Linked DNA regions of Homo sapiens: region 2 is linked to region 1. Evidence: promoter capture Hi-C in human tissues and cell types (Jung and others, 2019). All regions are on one chromosome and are shown on one strand. The core of a region is centred on a gene start or on the middle of the fragment in contact, and the rest is flanking DNA. Distances in the headings are between cores, read along the strand shown.

Evidence for each region. Contacts are between HindIII fragments. The study calls those that stand out against the background at their distance.
Region 2: a fragment that was not itself captured here is called in contact with the fragment with the promoter of CDC5L in region 1 in 1 of the 25 tissues and cell types used here (hippocampus).

What each region holds. Positions count from the first base shown.
Region 1 is chr6:44,386,408-44,389,036 of GRCh38, reverse strand. CDC5L (cell division cycle 5 like) reads right to left here and starts at 1,331. Exons shown (of 16, transcript NM_001253.4): 1 at 1,169-1,331. The coding sequence starts at 1,213. LOC124901323 (a long non-coding RNA gene) reads left to right here and starts at 1,118. Exons shown (of 4, transcript XR_007059595.1): 1 at 1,118-1,998. RefSeq lists an enhancer at 1,250-1,449. The HindIII fragment of the contact is 26,922 bases long and covers 1-2,629 here.
Region 2 is chr6:46,317,471-46,320,099 of GRCh38, reverse strand. The region is part of intron 2 of RCAN2 (regulator of calcineurin 2); the gene reads left to right. All of the region lies in intron 2 of LOC101926915 (a long non-coding RNA gene), which reads right to left. Among named protein-coding and RNA genes, the nearest start is that of ENPP5, 150 kb to the right of the region's middle. The HindIII fragment of the contact is 3,116 bases long and covers 1-2,629 here.

The sequences.
Region 1 (2,629 bases), core at 82-2,581:
GAAAGAGCAACTAGCTCTTACTCAGAGGCTACTATGTGCCCTACTCTGATCTAAATATTCCAAACGTATTAACTCGTGTAATCCTCAAGAGAGGTTAAGTATTATTATCCCAATTTAGAAAAAGTAGAAAACTGAGGCTTTCAGAAGTTAAGAAACTTACCGAGTACCACACAGAGGATGTGATGCTTACAAAAAGACAAAGCAAGTTTTAACAAACGGAAGAAAAAGGTATCATGAGAATATCGGGGGTGCAATTAATTCTTACAGAGATTCCAAGAAGTGTTTCCGAACTAGGTTTGAAGGATGATCAGAAAGATGTCAAGCGCTAGGAAGGCAAAAGATGTAAAAAAAAAAAAAAAAAGAAGCCATAAAATGTAACGAAAAAAAGACACAGAGCATGAAAAGACATGATGTGCTCCAGAAACTGATAAATTCGGTACACTCTGAACACAAAACGCACTAAAATCTAATTTCTATTTCACTCCCACTCTACTGCCCTTTGGCTCACCAATGGCACTATCCACTACGTTTCTGGAAACAGAGACTATCCTAGGCCAGTTTTTCCTTTCTGGCTTCTATCTAGGCAAAGGCAGTGACAGAAAGAGACAGACCTTGGGATCTGTCGAGATGGCAGACAGGTTATGCCCTGATAACAGATAACCAGAGAGATGCGGGCATAAACGGGCTCTCTGAACCTGGCACTCAAACTGCTTCCCCTCTGCAAGGAAGTCAATGGAGACACAAAGTTGTGGCCACGGCAACTTCTTTATTTCTGAGTATGAGACAGAGTCGTGGTGCCTGGACTAAGAGTGGATGGTGCCCCGGGGGACCAACTCTGGCTGAGTTGGAACTCTGAGTTCTTCCCGGGGCCGGGGGGGGCGGGGGGGCGGGGTGGGAGGGGGCGTATTCAAGTCAACAAATGTTCACTCAGGGCCTAACAAGTGAGCTTGGAGCCGAGTAGCCAGGTGGTGACATCACGGTCCCTGTCCTACTGGCGCTCGCACAACACGGGGCCAGACACACGGAAAGGGCCCCAAGGGTCAGCCCCCGGGCTGCCCTCCACGCAGACCCCACAGGGTCTCCTCGTCGCCCCCCCGACCTCCGCGCGCGTGCGCACAAGCTGCTAGAGGGAGCGGCGGGCAGCGGACGGCGGGAAAAGGAGACTTACCTCGGTATTCCTCCATACGCCCCCCTTGATCATAATTCGAGGCATCTTGGCGGCAGGGTGTCTCGGCAAGCAGCCGAGAGGAGCTTCAGAGAAGTAGTAACAGCGATTGGGCCACCGGACTCAAAGCCGCCACTTCCTCCAAGCGCGACCTTCTGCTTTGAAGATCTGCGCAAGCGCAAGGTGGGAGGGGGCGCAGAATAGCAAGTCTCGCGAGATATTGGGTGGCTGAAAGGGAAAAAGTGTCTTGTGGAAGCTCAGCTGCAGGAAGACTAACACAAAACCATCAAACCACTCTGGCCAAAGCGCCTTACGCCCCGCGCATGTCCAAAACAGAATGGAAGAAACTACGGCTCTCGCGAGATAGCGGCGGTAGCGCTTGGCTGGGAACTTAGTGGTGGGATTGATCGTGACGTCACCGAGTGGCAGAGGGTGGGAACGTCACGCGTACGGAATTTCAGCACAGTTGCTCCGAAGAAGGCTTTGTTAATTTATTAATCTAGCCCTTTCAAGTATTTCAGTAATAGGAATTTATTCACAGAATACTCAGGAAAATCCAGTAGTTTATTTAAGGCTCAGTTTCCTAACCTGTAAAATAGAGATCATAGTAATGCCAACCTCACAGGATTGTCGTAAGGGCTAAATGAGATCATAGACCCAGCACAGTATCTGATCCATAATAACTGCTGCAAAACAATAGCAGCTATTACTGCAAGGAGGGCAACGCCAACTTCACCCCGTCCCCAGGTGATCCAGGCTTCTTCCAGAAACCTGCAGAAACGTCACGTCAGAGTTTTTAATTCATCGCCCAGTCTGGATTAATAATGCCATTGGTACGCACTGGTATTAGACAAAGTCGAGTTGGGTTGAAATATTGTGAAATCTTGGCTTTCTCATAAGTTTGGGTAATAACCTTACTGAATCTCAGTATCCTCATCTGAAAAGTGGAGCTAACAATACCCGCCTCGTAAATGAGGAGGCAGATTAACTGAAACATAACTAAAACCCAGTGAGGTAGGGATTGGCAAACTCTCTGCTACCCCACCCCAATTACTCATGCAGTCTCCTTCATCCTTCCAGAACATCTCTGGCTCCATCCCTGGAAAATATCAAAATATTTAGTGGGTTGGGAAATGCCCTATTTATAGTACTTAGTATTTATATAGTGCCTATCTCTTTATATTTCTTCATTTCTCCGTTTGCCTCTTCTGGAAGAGCTACAGAATTTTCTTTTTCCTTTTAGCTTTTATTTACACACATTCTGTGCAATTATGGTCAGCAAGAGGGCATTTTCCATGGCCACCCTGGTAGTGTTTGCCACTCAAAGGTTTATGCTGGCGGGCAGCCCGCCCTTGAGCTGTTTACCCACTGTGTGGTGTATAAGAAACCATTGGACCTGTGGCCAGTTAAACTCAAACAAAATGTTTTCATTTGGACCTCTCCTGTAATGGGGCGGTTTTTTTT
Region 2 (2,629 bases), core at 51-2,550, 1.9 Mb before region 1:
GAAGTGTTTGAGTTGTATATGATTTAATCCTCAGAAATGGTAAACCCTCTAGAGGTATTCATGGTAATTAACGTTCAGTAACCAAAACGTGAAGTCAACTGAAATGCTCATTCCCTATTCAATGACCATAATAGTAATATTAAAAATAATATTTTGTCATACATCTCTAGACCATCTTTGGTTTATGAAGAACAAAAGGCAGTGTGTGTGTGAGGTGGCAAGAGAGATGGCATGTGTATAACAGATTCTAACCCTCCAGCAAAACAAATGTTGCTATTTCTCCGGTAATAACATGGACTAGAATTGAGGCCATTTTGGAAATAAATGAATTAATGCAAAACTGAAAGTTAAAATTAATGATCTCTAAAACAATTCTTTAAGAACTTAACATTCTTAAATGTACAATACTAAACATTTTCTTGCCTCTGAAGAAAGTAGCAAACATCTTTCAGAGAGAGGGAAGAAATGATTTTATGAAAGTGATACTCCCTGAGAAGGTTCAGAGGCAGATTTCTCAGCCACCTATCACATTTGGTAAAGACAAGGTAGACCGTTCAACTAATAACATTGTTAAGTGGGGAAATCAACTAAAAACTTGTTTATCTGTTTAAAGAATCTTTTAACTGTTGAGAAGTAACAGACATTGGCAGTTGCTACCTCTAACCTAAATGTCAGATATATTAAAACAAAACAGCAATTTTAATGAAAAATTGTTTTCCTAAAGAAACAGATTTTAATGTAAAATTCAGAGAGTGCCATTTGCAGTCTTAGTGATTCTGTTTGAGTCCAACTATCAGTAATTTATATGGGTTTGTTTTAGTACTTTCTGATAAAGCTTAGAATTGACACATAAGAAAGAAAATGATACCTGAAACACTTATTATCACTTTATGTGTTTAGGTGGTAAGCTTAATGGGCTTAATAGGCATTGCAACTTTGCAGTGACTAGCCCAGCTTTGCAAGGAGATCATAAACTATCCAACTCATACCTGGCCTAGAATTTCTTTATGTAAAGGGACAAATGTATTTATGTAAAGGTTCTGTATCCTTTCCCAATGCTAAAGCTAAACTATTTCAAAAATAGAATTTTAAAAACACATGGAGAGGTAATTTCAACTGGAAATTTTGAGCAGGTACAAAGTTATATATACCCATTCCACTCTAGCTAGAATGGAGAGTTAATTGTCAAAGTTTTTGAGAATAAAATGTCTACCAAGTTAGACCTTCCCTAGAAAAGGTTCGATATATGTAATTTCATGTTCACCTTTTGGGTAAGTATACCTGGGTAAAACATATGTGTGTACATATATGTATATACGGATATTATACACATGTGCAAATGTATGTATAACATGCATATTTACTATATATTTCTCTTTTTTTTTAACCTTCTGTTACCATAGAAGGTTTTTTCTGGATCCTCTACCTATTCTACAATGGCACATCTAACTAGTTAATGGTAATTGCGTGCTTTTAACTACATCAAGGGATTAAGGGCCCAAAGAAGATTCTTGGCAAGTGAGTTGAATAGAAACTTGAACAATTGCTAAAGGAAACTCCCCTGGGAGTGAAGGGGACTAAGAAATTCATTATCTTCTCTTTTTATTGTTATATACCATAGCAGTGTCCACATCCTTACAGTCTAGTACTACAACAGTTATTCTTTCCAGAATCTAATATATCAGCTCTGAACTATACTTTTTTTTAATGTTTCAAAAAGGTCTTGATCCTTTAGCTTCCAGAAAGATGACTTTAACCTATCTATGCTTCTGTTAGATTGGACTATGTACTAACTTTCATTTCCTAAAACAACATCTTCAATAATGTTTTATTTGCTCCAACAATAGGATACTTTGCTATTTAATTGTAAGATTTTCTTCCCCTACCTCTGGTAGTTCTATAGAAATATGTGAGCAGTGTTCATGCTGTACCCCAAACATTTAACCTCAGGGGACTGTTTACTAAGTTGAGCATTAAACCATCCCACATGTCACCACATGGTGACAAATGTAAGCTCCAGAGATATTCATCTCCATGGATCAATATTATATGTTATCAAGGTGGGCAATTTTAAAACTTCCAACTACTGTTTCCAATCACAAAATTCTTCTAACTACAAGGCATATAACAGGTACTTCATATAATCCCCATTATAGCCCAAGGCATCTATGTAGTTGCCCCATTATAAACAGATTCCTGATATTCAGAGAAGTTACCTTTTTACACAAGATTACACAGCTATTAATTGGCAGAAGTGGGACTTGAACTGTTCTTTCCACTATCGAAATCTCTCTAAGGATTAATTAATAAAGCATTAATCAATTATTGGGGTATAGGCCGGGCGCGGTGCCTTACGCCTGTAATCCCAACACTTTGGGAGGCCGAGGCGGGCAGATCAGAAGGTCAGGAGATCGAGACCATCCTGGCTAACACGGTGAAACCCCGTCTCTACTAAAAAATACAAAAAAAAATTAGCCGGGCATGGTGACAGGCGCCTGTACTCCCACCTACTTGGGAGGATGAGGCAGGAGAATGGCCTTAACCGGGGAGGTGGAGCTTGCAGTGAGCCGAGATCATGCCACTGCACTCCAGCCTGGGCGACAGAGAGAGACTCCATCTCAAAAAATAA